Regions from separate parts of the Homo sapiens genome. Here all the other regions are linked to region 1. Evidence: promoter capture Hi-C in 16 types of primary human blood cells and fetal thymus (Javierre and others, 2016). All regions are on one chromosome and are shown on one strand. The core of a region is centred on a gene start or on the middle of the fragment in contact, and the rest is flanking DNA. Distances in the headings are between cores, read along the strand shown.

Region 1 (3,108 bases), core at 360-2,859:
GGGAGACCCGGGTCCCTGCCCGCCCGCCGCCGAGCCCCGCCCGCCCGAGCAGAGAGAAGTGAGCAGAATGCCACGCTCATTTACACACAAAATGATTTTGTGTCCCATTGCGCTCGCAGTTGTTCGGCTCTCTGGGGGTGATTAAACTGGCTGAGCTGCGGCAGCTTGAGACGATTTCACTAAATCGCTTCTTCTGAAGTCGCTTCTTTGCTAAGCTGTTATTTTAACCATAAAAGGTAAACAGAAGGCGCCTCTCGAGCTCCCCTCGGCTCCGCACTCAGGGCGCTGGCCCGGGGCGAAAGTCCTGGGGGCCTGCACAATTGTCCCAGGGGTGGCCCCGGAGAGGCAGGCGGGCCACCTGGTGCGCGCCAGCCTCCCCACCCCCCCCCTCCCGCCTCCGCCGCGGAGCCAGCCGGCCGGTGTGAACTTAGGGGCGACGGGAGAGGGCTTGGGCCAAGGCTGGAGGCGCCGCGGGGCGGGGTGGCCGCGGCACCCGAAGCGCGGGGCTGGGCTGGGAGGGGTTGCCGCGGAGGCGGGGCGGGGACAAAGTTAAATCAAGAGGCAGACACTTGGAGACCACAGATGGGAAGCTCGCCTAATTAAGGACGTAAAAGCGCTTTTGTTCTCAAAGTTTATTGTTGCCGGGATTAAAAAAAAATTAATTGAAACTAATGCTGTTATTCACTCGTGCAGTTAAATTCCTTCATGCACATTTGAGATACGGAGCGAAAACTTGAAGCTTATCTTTCTGCAGTCGCGGGTGGGGGCCGCCGGAAGACAGAAAGGCGCTGCAGAGGCGGGGGTCCGCCCCCGGGTGTGTTTGCGAGTGTGTGCCGGGTGCGCGCGTCCAGGTCAGGGGGTGCGGGCGGGCAGCGGGGAACCGGATCTGCAGGCGGCGATCCCTCCCATCGCGGCCCCTCTCCCAGCCCCAAACCCTGCGCGCCCGGGACCACCACCAGCGCGACAGCCCCTCCTGCCAGGTTTCGGACTCGTGGGGTGGGCGTCAGAGGACGCACATCTGTCCCACTGGAGACTTTCTCTGATTTTGGGCGCCAAGCCGGGACTTGTGCATCCCGAAGCCCCAGTTGCGTGAGCCCGTTTCTGACCCCGGAAACTCGCCAGCTCTGCAGGGCGCTCGGCCCAGAACAGGGGCCAGAGTGCGGGGACCTCCACAAGCGCGCGCGCGCGCGCGCGCACACACACACACACACACACACACACACACACACACCGCGCGGCAGGAAGCTCCGAGACCGCCCGCGTGGGGAGGGTCCACCCGCGGCCAGGACCAGCCCACGTGGGCAACCCCACTCTTGCACCAGGCCTTTGTGCTGGGCACCCCCGCGCCGCCAGCCCCCGCCGCCCAGCAGAGGGACAAAGCGGCCGCCCCCGCCCAGGTCCAGACCCTGGCCGGGCGACTTTCTCGGTATCGCAGCCACTTCGGGGCAGGGTTGCGCGGCTCTGAGCGGTGGCCGCCCGCGCTGAGCTTACCTCGGAGCCGGCAGATCGGGCTCGGGCGCAGCCCCCGCCCCACGCAGCTGCCGGTCTCGGGCGCCGGGCGCAGCTTCGCCGCCTATGCTCGCTGCGCGGGTCGCTCCGGTCTCGTCCTGGAGTTACTTTCTCTCTCGCCCCCAACCCTCCCCCCACCCACCCCTCCCGCCCCGGCCCCCGCTTCACGCGGCCCCTCGCGGCGCGGCGCGCCGGGGCCTCCCCTCCCCACCCTCCCCTCGCCTCCTCCCCTCTTCGCGGCCGCCGCCTCCGCCGCCGCCGCCTCCTCCTCGCGCCGCTCTCCGGCTGCCCTCCCGCCGCTCCCACCTCCTCTCCTCCCTCCTCTCTCTCCGGCGGCCTCCCTCGATTGCTGGAGAGAAAACCAGCCCCCCACTCCAGCCCCTAGCCAGCGCCTCGCCGCGGCCCAGCCCGGACGTAAAGGGCAGCGATCCGGCCCCAAATTACCCAGCGCGAACGGGCGCGCGCGGCGACTCCTGGCTCGGGGCTCGGCTGCGCCGCGGGGCAGAGGATTAGAGTCGCAATTAGCTCCGCGCGCCCGCGCCTGGCGACAAAAACGCGCCGTTTCCCCTCCTTTCGCCGGGCGATCCCCACCCGCCTCTCCCGAAGCCCGCGCCTTCCCGCCGGGGCCGCGGCCAGGACCCTCCCGGGAGCGGTGCGCCCAGGCCCCAGCGCCCTCCGCGGCCCAGCCCCCCGCCCCCCGCCGGCCGGCCACGCGGCGCCCGGGCCTCCTCCGGGCTCGGGGAGGGGGCGGGGGAGAGGCTGATTTTAATCATTGTCATTTCATCTGATGTAATATTTCCCCGGGCGCTTTCAGCTGGGCATAAATTTTCGGCTCCCAAATAAGTAACACAGGGCACGTTTCTCACATTTCTTGACTCCTCGGTTACAAAGAGGAGAGCAGCCGCCGCCGCGGCGCCCGGGGCTGGGGGCGGGACTTGGGAAGAAACTGGGCTGCCAGTCGGTCGGGGCTGGAGCGGAGCCGGGGGCCAGGCCGCCCCTCCCCCGCTCCCTGGCCGCCCTCCCAGGGTCTCTGCCCCGCTGCCCCTCTCCCGTGACGTCTGCGGACACGCGGTCGGCCGCCGCGGGGGAGGGACGCGCTGGGGCACCGGGCCGACCGCTCGCGGCTAGACGCGCCATTTCCTTTACGCGCGCGGCGCGATGGAGACGGCGGCAGCCAAGACTCCCCGCGGCCGAGGTCCGCGCCCCGGACGCCCCTCCCCAGTCTCCGCTTCGGCCGCCCCTTCCTCCTTTTCTCCCACTCCCACTCCTCCTCCCCTTCCTCTTCCTCCTGTTTCCTTTGCGCCCCGCCCGTGCCTCCTCCTCCTCCTCGGCGACCATTTCCCGGCTCCTAGGAAACGGAGCGCGCGACTGGCCGGCACTGCGCCCCCGCCTGGCTCCAGGGACGCCCGGGCCGGAGACCGGCTGGGACCGCGGGGCGGGTGCGCACGGGCCGGAACGGCGCCTGGGTCCCGACCGCCGGCTCCGGCCGGGCCTGGACGCCCCCTAGCGGCCGCACTCCCGGGGTGGGGGGCGCTCGGGGTCGGCCTGGAGCTGGGGTGAGGGGGACTCGGGGTGCCAGTGGGAGGAAGGTGAAGTGGG
Region 2 (3,108 bases), core at 352-2,851, 380 kb after region 1:
GGGGCAGCTGTGAAGGGATGGTGGGCACAGGCCCCCTCTGTCCAGCCAGAAGCCTGTCTGTGCGCACGTGTCCCGGTAGCTGGTGCAGAGGACACACCTCCGCGTTTTTGCTGGTGAACATCCTGGAGATGCTGGGAGTGTGTGGGCCCAGGAAGGACTTCTGTAGAGAACTTGGCTGCCTGGAGGGTGCGGGAGTGGGTGTCCGGGCCGTGGACCTATGCAGATTCTGTTTGGTTTTAAAGGAATAGTCAAGAGGCTGTTTCTCAAAGCCTGGCACAGGATGCCCACGACCTCCTCTCCTGCTGCCTGAGGAGGGATCCCCATTCTCCAGCCTCCCTCCAGGCCTCTGAACAGTGACCACGATGGCTAGGTCACTGTACACAGAGCTCCTTGGGTACCAGGCACCATTGTGTATACTCCATGTATGTTAAATCATTCGACTGGCATAGCAGCCCTGGGAGGGAGGCACCGCTATCATCCCCATTTTACAGATGAGGAAACTGAGGCACGGAGAGGCCATTCAGCTGGCCAGCAGCAGAGCCAAGATTTGCCCTTGAGGTTGGTGTTGAGTCCCAGAAGGCTGGGTATGTGGGGCCCAGAGCAGGGAGCCCAGCACAGGGACCGGGGTGCGGAACACACCCTCCCCACCTCAGGTTTGTAACCCCATGTCCCAACTACCTGCTTTCCTAAGCCCTCTGCCCAGCTGAGGGGGCTCCACCAGCTCTGCGCATTTTCACTCCCAAGCTTCTGTTTCCGGCCCAGCCTCCCCTCTCCACCTCTTGAGTACCTGAGATCCATTGAGGCCCAGCCGGGGAAAGGGAATGATGTGGCCAGGGCCACCCCTTACACTGCCTCACTAACCTCTTCGGCGCTACCCCACCCATGCTCGAGGCACATAGCTTGGCCGACACTTGCTGCCAGGCAGCCCTTCTACCGCTGTCTGGGCAGCTGCAGCATTTTTATAGGACTGTGACTCGTCTTCATGTTAGGTGATAAACTTCTGAGGGCAGGAGCTGGGCCGTGTGCCCGGGAGCGCTCCACGGGCTGGATTTGTGGGTCCCAGTGGGAGGCCCAGCGACGCCGTCTCTGGGGACCCCATTCCTGCAGATCTGGGTCTGGGAACTTGCTGCTCCTGCCCCATTTGTCATCTCCTGGCACTGACAGATGTGCCTGCCCCACTGACACTGCAGTAACTCCATCCACCTCGTTATTCACCACTCATGCAGTTCCCCCAGGTTGCTTAAGGGCTCTCTCACTTATGCCTGGATACAAGCCTCTTCTACCCGAGTCTTGCCTGGGAGAAATTTATAGGTGAGGGTGTTAGAGGAATGGCCACATAAGGAAAAACAACGGGGCCCACACAGCAGCCGGGATGTCGTTGGCTGGGACTTAGGCAGACCACGGCCTCCTCTCAGCCAATCAGGAAGCCCCTCCCTGCTGCTGGGGAGGAGGTGCGCGCTGGGCTTGAGCCTGGCTGGGGTGTGTGTACCACCCCATCCGCCTTCCAGGTGAGCAGGAGGGAGCAGGGGCTGTTAGACCCAGCTGGTCCGGGGCTGCACGATGTGAGTCATAAATTTATGGAAGGAGCCTATGGAGATGGTCGCAGTGGGGCGGTGACACTCCTGCCTGTCTTGCTGGCTGCTGCCCTCTGCTGGAGAGCCTGTTCCAGGTGTTAATTATTTTGGGTGGGTAGTAGCTAGCCTGCTCCAGGGATGACTTGGCTGGACCCCTCCTGCCTCGCACTTGGAGGAGTTGTGATGCTGCCACTGCCATGGCATGTCGGTCATCCACGGGACAGGCTGTTAGCCTGTCCTCATAGCCCACACTTGCTCCTGGTCATCCCAGCACCACTCGCCAAGCTCTGGCCCAGCTGTGCGGGGGCACACGTTGCGTCCGCATCAAGCATGGGCCCCAGTTTGGAATGTCCACCCCTCAGTGCTCACCGCTTGAAGATCAGAACTGTGCCGCGCCGGGCTCACACGCTTCCACAGGCCCCCTGTGCCGCCACAGCTGCCCAGAACTTGGGTGCCCTTGTGCGTCCACACCCCAAGCCTAAAGTCTGCAGAAAACGTGGGCTCGTTTTGCCCACCTGTTATTGCCACCAAAGCACCAGTGTGTCCTCAAGTTGCGTCAGAAAAGGTCATTTAAAACAAAATTCAGGACTGAAGTCCACTGTGAAGCATTTCAGCTTTTTTTAGGCGGGCGTGAATATCCAGCACGTGGTGCTCCTCCTCTTTTCAACTCCTTCCTATGGAACAGTGTGTGGAGTTGTCAACGTGGCCGGCAAAGGTGACCAGTGTCGGGCTGCACTTTGCAGGTGAAAACTGGGTCAGCCTTTCTTTAGTTTGATGCTTCTGTGAGCTGTGCCTTCTTGAAGGCACTATTTTTTTCTTAAAAAGCAGCAAAGGCATTCAAAGACAGTTGTCTCCACTGAGTGGGTTATGCAGGGGGAAGCTTGCTGCAGGCGAGAGAGCCAAGTTTCCTCACTGCCTCCCCTTTCTGATGTTTTTTTCTTGTATTGATTGATTGATTGATTTTTTGAGAGCTGGGGTCTTGCTGTGTTGCCCAGGCTGGTCTTGAACTCCCGGCCTCAAGCAGTCCTCCAACCTTGGCCTCCCAAAGTGCTGGGATGACAAGTGTGAGCCACTGCGCCCGGCCTGCCGCTCCTTTCTTGTAGAATATGTGAGTTCCTCTGCACATGCGGATGGCATCTCTGTCCCTCTGCCTGTCTTTTCTGAAGCCGGCCAGTCCCAGCGCAGCCCGTGGTTGTCTGCAGGTCACTTGTCCCACAGAGGTCCGCTGTCGCCATCACGTCGAGAATGACCATGTGACCTCTGAGGTTCGCTTCTGTTGGTGCAGGACCACATCTCACAAAGCCAAGGGAGCACCCCTGTTCCACGGCGTGGGTCAGGCCTCTTCTCGGGCTTTCTGGGAGGGCGCCACAGAGGTGTGAAGTGGCTTCTGAGGCTGCCTGTCTGGCCTGGCGCACAGGGCTTGCCATGTGGGGCACTGCCCTTGCCTGCCTTGGTAGGAACGTGCCTGGACTGTGGCGAAACTCAGCGCTGAGACTCCCAGGAGCGAGGTGGAAGCGGCCTCCTGAGCGCTTGC
Region 3 (3,108 bases), core at 446-2,945, 380 kb before region 1:
GGCGGGTGGATCACCTGAGGTCAGGAGTTCGAGACCAGCCTGGCCAACATGGTGAAACCCCGTCTCTACTAAAAATACCAAATTAGCTAGGGGTGGTGGCAGGCGCCTATAATCCCAGCTACTTGGGAGGCTGAGGCAGGAGAATCACTTGAACCCGGGAGGCGGACGTTGCAGTGAGCCGAAATCATTGCCTTTGCACTCCAGCCTGAGCAAAAAGAGCTAAACTCCATCTTAGAAAAATAAATAAATAAATAAATAAATAAAGGATTTACCAGAGCATCCAAGAAATATTATTAAATACTTGATCCCGTGAAACCACTCCCCTATCTGTTAACGATTTTTAAAATTTTACAGATTTCGAAAATCTTCTTCTTTATCCTTGGACCTAACCTATCCACAGGGTCCCTAACCATGCTATGCAGTTCCCACCTCTACCAGAAGTGCTGGGAAAATCACCTAGGTTATCTAGCTTCCCTCAAAGTATTTTACACTGTTGTGAGATTTCCTTTAAGATTCAGGAGCTAAAGTTTATTTTCTTTCTGGTTTCCTGGCGGAGCAAAGGCCCTGCACGTGTGAACGGAAACAAAACCCACACAGACTCTAGGGATGCCAAATATTAACACTGTGGGTAGGGGCACCTTCCTTCTCGGCCGAATTCCCTTTCCCAGAGAGCCTCCAGAGGGATCAGTCAACGCCCACTGAGCCTGGATCAAAGGTCAAGCTTGCCTGGTCAAGAAGGATCCTGGATCAAGCTTGAACCCGTTTCCAGAAACAGGGGCGTCGGGGCAGCAGCAAGCATTTTTACCACGCGCCCTAATGAGGTGGTTGCACAACAGGCTTTGAGGATTCCGGTTTAACAGGTAAATACCAACAGAGGATGAGCCGAGGGAGATGGGATCTGCTCCACGGCATCGATGGCATTTCGAGAATGTCTGCGTCGCAGAGCAAACCCAAAGTTTTAGCACATTACTCAAGAGTTCACCAGAGGAAGATCGCCACGAATTGAAATGAACAAAGTGAGAAAATGGGTGCTGTGTAGTCAACGCATCCGCGATGAACTCAAGCTGGGCGGAAAAATTCTTTGAATACTCCGGCTTTGTTTTGTGCTAAGACGGCAGAAGCCCCGAATTTCGGAGTTGGAAGACGCGTTTCTCCGTGTTCTCCGGCCCGTTCTCGGACTTCAGGGCCGCCCGCCGCGCACTCAGTCCCGTAGTTCCCCGGGCTTCAGGCGCGGACATTCCGGGGGGCGGAAACCAGGGAGCCGCGGGGAGGCCGCGGTCCGGCCCGCGACGCCGGGGCCCGGAGAAGGGAGGCGAGAGGCCTCCCGGAGCTCGACGGAGGGAGGGGAGGGAACGAGGAGGCCGCGGGCCGGAGCGGGGAGCAGCCCCGAGCGGCGCCCGGCTCGGCCCCCACCCTGAGGCCCGGTCCCGCGTACCTTTGGCAAGGGCTACGGTGGAGTTTTCGGTGTCGATGGTGTAGAGGATGCCCTCGTAGCGGATCTCCGCCTTGGAGATGAGGCTGATCTTGCTGCCGATGTAAGGGGTGCCCCCGCTCATGGCGCCGCCGCCGCCGCTCCCAGCTGCTCGCAGAGAGGCAGATCCCACGCCACTGTCGCCCGCTCCGCACGCCCGCTCGCTCCGTCGGCGCCTACAGCAGCCGCTTCAGACCCAACATGGCGGCGGCGCCGGCTCCGCTACCCTCCCCCAGCCTCCCGCCCTCAAGCCGCGGCGCGGCGGCGGCGGCGGCGGCGGCAGCGGCGGCGGCGCGGGGCATGCTGGGAGGGCGAGGCCGCGCTCTCGCGAGACTTGGCCGGCTACTGGTGGCTCCCGGCTCATTCGTGGCCTCGGGAGTCCCGGCAGCGCTTGTTGGCCTGGACTACGGTGGTGGTCTTGGGGCCGCGTGAGAGGAACTTCGGGGACCGGCTGAGTGCCTCGTGGCACCCGCTTGCTGCGGGCTGGAGAGGAGGCGCGCGGCCTTCCTTTTGACTCAGGCCGTGGCCGCCTTGTCGTGGGTCCTGTGTCTTTGCCGACGCGGGGCCCTCGGCCTGGAGCGCTGCCCACCCGCCTCCGAGCTGTGGCGAGCCGCTGCTCATCCTTCTAAGACGCTGAACCTGCACCTCGTGGAGCTCCTACGGCTCCATTACCGCAGTCATCGCCCGGGGAGCTTCCCCCGAGGCTGCCCCTGGAGCTGGGGCTCTCACAAGGACTCAAGTGTTTCAGCCCCTTCCTGTCCCGCTCATTCAGCCGGTCTGAACCAGTTTCATGGCTTGCAACGCCATTGTAACTCACTAATCCCAATTATCAGTATGTAGCTTGGATCAATTCCGTGAACCAGGGTTTCTGTCGAATCTCAAACGTTAAGGGTCCAAAGCCATGCTCCCTGTTTCCCCTCTAACCTGCTCCTTCACCACCGTTCCCTATTTGATGTAAACGGTACCATTTTTACTCAGCTGCTCAGACTAAAAGCCGTGAGTCAGCCTTGCCCTGTCTTGCTTCCACATCTGTTCTGACTACACCTCTCCGTTATGTATACACAATATATCCTAAATCTGACTTCTCATCTCCATTCCTACACTTCTCCCACAAGCCACGATTACTCGGGCTGAATTATTGCAGTAGCCTTCTAAAAGTTGCCTCTGTGTCAACTCTTGCCCCCAGTACTTTATTCTCAATACAGCAGCCAGAGAGATCTTCTTAAAATCTAACTCAGGGCTGGGCGCAGTGGCTCACGCCTGTACTCCCAGTACTTTGGGGGCCCGAGGCGGGCGCATCACCGGTCAGGAGTTCGAGACCAGCCTGGCCAACATGGTGAAACCCCGTCTCTACTAAAAATATAAAAAAATTAGCCAGGCGTGGTGGCGCGCGCCTATAGTCTCAGCTACTTGGGAGGCTGAGGCAGGAGAATTGCTTGAACCCAGGAGGCGGAGGTTGTGGTGAGCCGAGATTGTGCCACTGCACTCCAGCCTGGGCGACAGAGCGAGACTCCGTCTCAAAAAAAAAAAAAAAAATCTAACTCAGATCATGTCCTTCCTCTACTCACTCTACTGATCCCATGTTACACAGAGAGAAAACCAGACTTTGGTGTCTAAGGATATACATGATTTAGCTT
Region 4 (3,108 bases), core at 374-2,873, 310 kb before region 1:
CTGGGACTAGAGGCATGTCCACCATGCCTGGCTAATTTTTTGTATTTTTAATGAAGACGGGGTTTTGCTGTGTTACTGGTCTCAAACTCCTGAGCTCAAGCAATGCCCCCACCTTAGTTTCCCAAATGCTGAGATTACAGGCATGAGCCACTGCACTTGGCCTTAGTTATTTTTCCATCCACTGGTGGTTTTTTTTTTTTTTCCTGAGTCGCTCTGGAATGCAGTGGCGTGATCCCGGCTCATGGCAGCCTCTGCCTCCTGGATGCCAGCAATTCTCATGCCTCCGCCTCCCAAAGTGCTGGAATTACAGGTGTGAGCCCACCATGCCTGGCCTCCACTATTTTTGATGTCACAATCTTATGGCTCTGGGGATGGTTTTTAGAAGCTTTGTAACTGTAATTTTTTTTTCTCAAATAACTTAAGAGTTCCTAAAAAGAGCACCTGCTTTATTTAAGAGGAATTATGCTTTATCTCATATTATTTGCAATCTAAGTATCTGAAATTCTTAGAGTCACCTACCCCACCACACGTGTGGACACACCTAGGGCAGTTAGAAGAACAGGTTGGGGCAGAGCAGGTTGGAGCCTTGGCACCCTTCAGTGTGCTAAGGTCACAGGTCAGGGACACGTTCAGATGCACCGTTTGGTATCATGTTGACGTTTGGTTTTATTCTAAATGGTTCATTCGTTTCTAGTATCTAATGAAGATAAACATCAGAACTCTGTAACTCTGCAATTCGTTCATTGGGAAAAGAAGTTCCTTCTGTAGGGTCTGTTCCCAGGGAGGGGGAGAGGGAAATACACCTGTGGCTGGTAAAGGTGACACTGGAGGAGTTGGGGTGTGGCCCCACCTTTACACACCTGGAGGGTGGAAAATGGTCTTTGTGAAGCCTTTCTGTGGTTCCAAGTGTGAATCTTCTGGAGGGGCAAATCAGTTTTTCCTCTTTGTGACTTCCTTGTTTTAAAAAGATTGTCCCTGGAGCCAGGCGTGGTGGCTCACGCCTGTAATCCCAGCACTTTGGAAGGCTAAGGTGGGCGGATCACCTGAGGTCAGGAGTTCACGACCAGCCTGGCCAACATGGTGAAACCCCATCTCTACTAAAAATACAAAAGTTATGCGAGTGTGGTGGTGCACAGCCTGTAATCCCAGCTGCTTGGGAGGCTGAGGCAGGAGAATCACGAACCTGGGAGGCGGAGGTTGCAGTGAGCAGAGATGGCGCCACTGCACTCCAGCCTGGGCGACAGAGCGAGACCCCATCTCAAAAAAAAAAAAAGATTGTCCCTTTTTTATTCTCAGGGAACACAGGTGAGAGAAGTTTAGGAGAACTCTTTGGTTCACAACACCTCTTTTTTTGTCCATCTTGTTTGGGCTTCATAAACAGCTCTTGTTAATTCAAGGGCCATGTTTTCCTTTCGCAGAGCCATTTTATGGGGATTGACTCTCAGTCGTGATGTATGATTTTATTCTGAAAGTATGACTCAGGATCAAGTGGTAAAAGTACCGAGTTTAAATGTGTTCACAAATATTTGGGCCGAGTGCGGTGGCTCACCCTGTAATCCCAGCACTTGGGAGGCTGAGGGCGGGCGGATCGCTTGAGTCCAGGCATTCGAGACCAGTCTGAGCAACATGGTGAGATCTTGTCTCTACAAAAAATAAAAAAAATTAGCAGGCATAGTGTTGTGCGCCTGTAGTCTCAGCTACTTGCAGGGCTGAGGCAGGAGGATCACTTGAGTCCAGGAGGTCAAGGCTGTAGTGAGCTGAAATTGTACCACTGCACTGGGCAGCAGAGCAAGACCGCGTCTTAAATTAAAAAAAAAAAAAATTGAAGCTAAATATATGTGTGGGTGTGGTATTAGACATTTTTTTTTGTCTTTATGTATAACTAACTGAATTCATGGCAGTTATTTGGTAGTCTTGGTTTATAGACTTTTTTTTTTTTTGAGATGGAGTCTTGCTCTGTCACCCAGCCTGGAGTGCGGTGGCACAATCTCTGCTCACTGAAACCTCTGCCTACCAGGTTCAAGCTATTCTCCTGCCTCAGCCTCCTGAGTAGATGGGATTACAGGTGCCCGCCACAACAAAAATTAGCCTGGCTAATTTTTTTTTTTGAGACAGAGTCTTGTTCTGTTGCCCAGGCTGCAGTGCAGTGGCGCGATCTTGGCTCACTGCAAGCTCAGCCTCCCGGGTTCAAGCCATTCTCCTGCCTCAGCCTCCTGAGTAGCTGAGACTATAGGCGCCGCCACCATGCCTGGCTAATTTTTGTATTTTTAGTAGAGATGGGGTTTCACCTTGTTAGCCGGGATGGTCTCCATCTCCTGACCTCATGATCCGCCCGCCTCGGCCTCCCAAAGTGCTAGGATTACAGGCGTGAGCCACCGTGCCCATCCTAGCCTGGCTAATTTTTGTATTTTTAGTAGAGACGGGATTTCACCATGTTGGCCAGGCTGGTCTTGAACTCCTGACCTCAATTGATCCGCCCACCTTGGCCTCTCAAAGTGTTAGAATTACAGGCATGAGCCACCACACTCAGCCAGTTCATAGACCTTTGAAATTAAGGCTTTTAAACATTTGTTCTTCAAACATTTACTGGGTGGGTGTTATATGCTGGGCAATATAGGCGTTGGTGTAGGAAGATGTGAATTCAAGTCCTAATTCTGTCATTTGCCAGCTGTTATGTCTTTGGGAAAATCACTTAGCTTCTTTGAGTTGCAGTATATAAACTAGTTTTCATAATGCATAACTTGTGTGGTGGTTATGAGGGTTAAGTACAAAGTATGGCACTACGTATAAAACAGTGCTTGATTTTTAGTAGGCACTTAATAAATGCTAGTTTTTTCTTACCATGAAGGATTCCAAGCTTTAAAAATTACTCTTTTTTCTTTTCTTTTTTTTATACAGGGTCTTGCTCTGTCACTTAGGCTGGAGTGCAGTGGTAGGATCATAGCTCACTGCAGCCTCGACCTCCTGGGCTCAAGCTATCCTCCCACCTCAGCCTCCTGAGTAGTGGGGACCACAAGTCCGCACCACCATGCCCATCTAATTCTTTTTAATTTTTTGTAGAGACAGGGTCTTGCCATGTTGCCTAGCCTGTTTTCAAACTCCTGGGCT
Region 5 (3,108 bases), core at 285-2,784, 290 kb before region 1:
TCTGATAGATTTAGATTTTCTGATTAGTGGGTAATATTAAAGAAAGCTTAATCCATATATTAGTTAATAAGTACATCTTTTCAAGCTGTCACTTAGTTGACACTGAAGGAGCCTTGCAAAAGCGTTAAGGGCGCTTTGTCATACTCTGTGAACTGTTTCAGCCCTGGAGCCTGTCTGTGTGGCCTTCCATAGTGTTATACTTCATATGATTTTAGAGTGACAGTAATGGGAATGGAACTGCCAGATGGAAGGCTGACTGCATGTCAGAGGCTAGGCCAGATGCATTCTATTCATCCTCACTACTCATTTTCCTAAGGACAAGTGTATCTCCTCATTTTATAGATGGTGAAACTGAGGCTTAAAGAAGCCCAAGATAACACATCTCGTAAGTGGTGGAGGCTACAGTCAATCCTGGTAATTTAACATAAAAGATCATGTTCCTATCCACGTTATGAAATCACATTTCTGTGATGCCCGTATCTCCTTTAGAGCTTGTTAAAGTCATCCTTTAAAAATGTCTATTGGCATCAAGGGTGATTTTTTTTTCTTGAGATGGAGTCTCGCTTTGTTGCCCAGACTGGAGTGCAGTGGCACAACTTCAGCTCACTGCAACCTCTGCCTCCTGGGTTTAAGTGGTTCTCCTGCCTTAGCCACCTGAGTAGCTGGGATTATAGGCACCCGCCACCATGCCCAGCTAATTATTGTATTTTTAGTAGAGACATGGTTTTGCCTGGCTGGCCTGACTGGTCTCGAACTCTTGACCTCAGGTGATCCATCGCCTCAGCCTCCCCAAGTGCTGGGATTACAGGCGTGAGCCACTGCGCCCGGCCCAGTGACAATTACTTAATACAGTATTTCTTTTGTTAAATAATTTTTAATTTTAAGGATTTTAAGGATTCCCCAAACAGAGAGATACACTTTTTTTTTGTTTGTTTGGTAATTGGAGGTTGTGCACAGGGAGAGGATAGATTCTTGCATTCATTTTAGTTCACAATAGAATCCATCAGTTGGCGGGAATTGTTAATTCTCCCTTGGGGGAAATCAAGTGCCTGAGGCAGTGATTGATAAATCAATAAATCTTTAGTGGGTCTGGTAAATCAAGTGTCACACGTATGTCAACCTTTTCTCCAGATTATAGATTTTACCCAGGACAAGTGTGTTTCTTCCTTTCCATCATTTTCTCCTTCAAAATTGCAACATACTAAGGTATTTAAACAAATCCTTAAGATTGTAAGCTTTTTTTCTTCTTTTTCCATTTTTAAAAGATAGCATAAGGGATCATGCTTTTCTCAGCTATTTTAGGGCAAGAACTCAGTTGTTTGCATATTTGCATTTCAACCCCTAACCTCTCCTGAGGACAAATGGCTGTCTGACGATGAAGCCCACAGGCACAGCGCCGGGACTGTGGATTAAGCCTCTGAATGCTGACTAGTTTTCAGCAGCATTCCCAGCGTGTGTGAAGAATGTGTTTGTAGCTGGGAGGCAAACAGAACATCCAAAGCCGAGCAAGAATTTTGAAAAATAGTTGTCTTATGTATAAATGTATTTTTGCTCTTAGTGTTTTCTTCTTGCCGATTTCATTATTCCAGATTTCTGCTTTCTTTTAAAATAGCTCCATTGTGTTTGATATTCTCATAATATTCTCTCAAGTTTTGGTCACTTGATTTTTTCAAAATGTTCTTCTTTTTTTTTTTTCTTTATCATTTAAACACCCAGCCATGGATGGCTGGCTTAGATATTTCTCCCCGCTGGTAGGGAAGACCTGGTGACTTCCACACAAGACGCCTGTAAGGCCTTTGCTCTTCACAAATCAGGGCCCAGTTGGAAGCTTTGGCAGGTACTGAGGGCGACAGCTTAGGTTTTTAGCTCTTATAATAGGAACAGCAAGGCTTAGGGCTGTGGATTTATTTCTCTTAACAGTTTAAGTTATCATTGTGCCTGCTTTTAGGGCCAAAGAAATGAATTCTCTTAACCGGCTCTTTATTCTTTAGTGAAGAAACATATATTGTAGAAGTGTGAGTTCTGCTTGGGTAGAAAAACCAAACTAATTTGATGAATTGGCACATTGGCTTAAAGGGTCCCCAATAGTAATCTGTTGAGAATCTGCTTTTTCCAAACTGTCAGTGTTGGGAAGGCATGGCACGACCCAATGTGAAGTAAAATCTGGTTCCTGTTCTCAGGAGCTCAAGGAACAAATGTAGAATAAAGAGAATGCCAGAAAACTTATCAGTGAAAGCATCTAGTTTGAGAAATTGTGGACCAGGGAGCATTGAAGGTGGAGCCTTAAAAGATTGGTATCATTGGCCAGGTGCAGTGGCTCACCCCTGTAATCCCGGCACTTTGGGAGGCTGAGGCGGGCCAATCACCTGAGGTCAGGAGTTCGAGACCAGCCTGGCCAACGTGGTGAAACCCTGTCTCTACTAAAAATGCAAAAATTAGCTGGGTGTGATGGTGGGCGCCTGTAATCCCAGGTACTTGGGAGGTTGAGGTAGGAGAATTACTTGCACCCAAGAGACAGAGGTTGCAGTGAGCCAAGATCATGCCACTGCACTCCAGCCTGGGTGACAGAGTGAGACTCTGTCTCAAAAAAAAAAAAAAAAATTGGTGACATTTTAACAATGCAGCTATATTTGTCATGGCTGTAAAGGAGTGTCTGTGTGAGTTTATGCGTGTCTGTCTGTCTGTCTTTGTCTGTCCATGTCCTTTGGGGAATAATTTGCTATTCACTTCATCTGGCACAAGTGTATGGGAGCAATGAGACATGATTTTCTAAAACAAATTTAAATTTAAGACTCATAACTCATCAGGTCTTTAGGAGAATGGCAATGTATATTTTCCCTTTACATGCAGTAAAATTAGATCCTTGTCTGTAGGGATGATGATTAAATTTATTATAAAGTTAATGTCAAATCCATTGTTAGCTATTTTGTAAGTTGAAATGTGACTGACACATAATGAGCTCTGTGTTGTAATTCTTAAAAATAGTTACAATAATACTGCCCTTGAGGTCAGTGTCTTGCTGTAGTTAAATTCATTACACAGCCTGTAGTTTTTAAATTTCTTTATTAATTATTTGCCTGTACTTTTAAATTGGGAATTGATCACCTA

Evidence for each region. Contacts are between HindIII fragments. The CHiCAGO score rates a contact against its expected background, and 5 or more counts as called.
Region 2: a fragment that was not itself captured here is called in contact with the fragment with the promoter of KCTD15 in region 1 in 3 of 17 cell types (megakaryocytes, endothelial precursors and naive CD4 T cells); the score reaches 6.8 in megakaryocytes.
Region 3: the fragment with the promoter of LSM14A here is called in contact with the fragment with the promoter of KCTD15 in region 1 in 4 of 17 cell types (erythroblasts, endothelial precursors, monocytes and 1 more); the score reaches 8.8 in erythroblasts.
Region 4: a contact is called between a fragment that was not itself captured here and the fragment with the promoter of KCTD15 in region 1, in 8 of 17 cell types (naive B cells, total B cells, megakaryocytes and 5 more). The highest score is 8.2, in naive B cells.
Region 5: a contact is called between a fragment that was not itself captured here and the fragment with the promoter of KCTD15 in region 1, in 1 of 17 cell types (endothelial precursors). The highest score is 5.1, in endothelial precursors.

What each region holds. Positions count from the first base shown.
Region 1 is chr19:33,795,371-33,798,478 of GRCh38, reverse strand. It overlaps KCTD15 (potassium channel tetramerization domain containing 15), which reads right to left and starts at 1,609. Exons shown (of 7, transcript NM_001129994.2): 1 at 1,492-1,609. RefSeq lists a silencer at 2,911-3,030. The HindIII fragment of the contact is 5,196 bases long and covers 742-3,108 here.
Region 2 is chr19:33,414,940-33,418,047 of GRCh38, reverse strand. All of the region lies in intron 9 of PEPD (peptidase D), which reads left to right. Among named protein-coding and RNA genes, the nearest start is that of CEBPG, 43 kb to the right of the region's middle. RefSeq lists an enhancer at 1,564-1,713. The HindIII fragment of the contact is 1,710 bases long and covers 747-2,456 here.
Region 3 is chr19:34,171,091-34,174,198 of GRCh38, reverse strand. It overlaps LSM14A (LSM14A mRNA processing body assembly factor), which reads right to left and starts at 1,695. Exons shown (of 10, transcript NM_015578.4): 1 at 1,436-1,695. The coding sequence starts at 1,556. The HindIII fragment of the contact is 4,496 bases long and covers 755-3,108 here.
Region 4 is chr19:34,105,647-34,108,754 of GRCh38, reverse strand. No RefSeq gene overlaps it. Among named protein-coding and RNA genes, the nearest start is that of LSM14A, 65 kb to the left of the region's middle. The HindIII fragment of the contact is 2,472 bases long and covers 388-2,859 here.
Region 5 is chr19:34,081,178-34,084,285 of GRCh38, reverse strand. No RefSeq gene overlaps it. Among named protein-coding and RNA genes, the nearest start is that of LSM14A, 90 kb to the left of the region's middle. The HindIII fragment of the contact is 593 bases long and covers 1,238-1,830 here.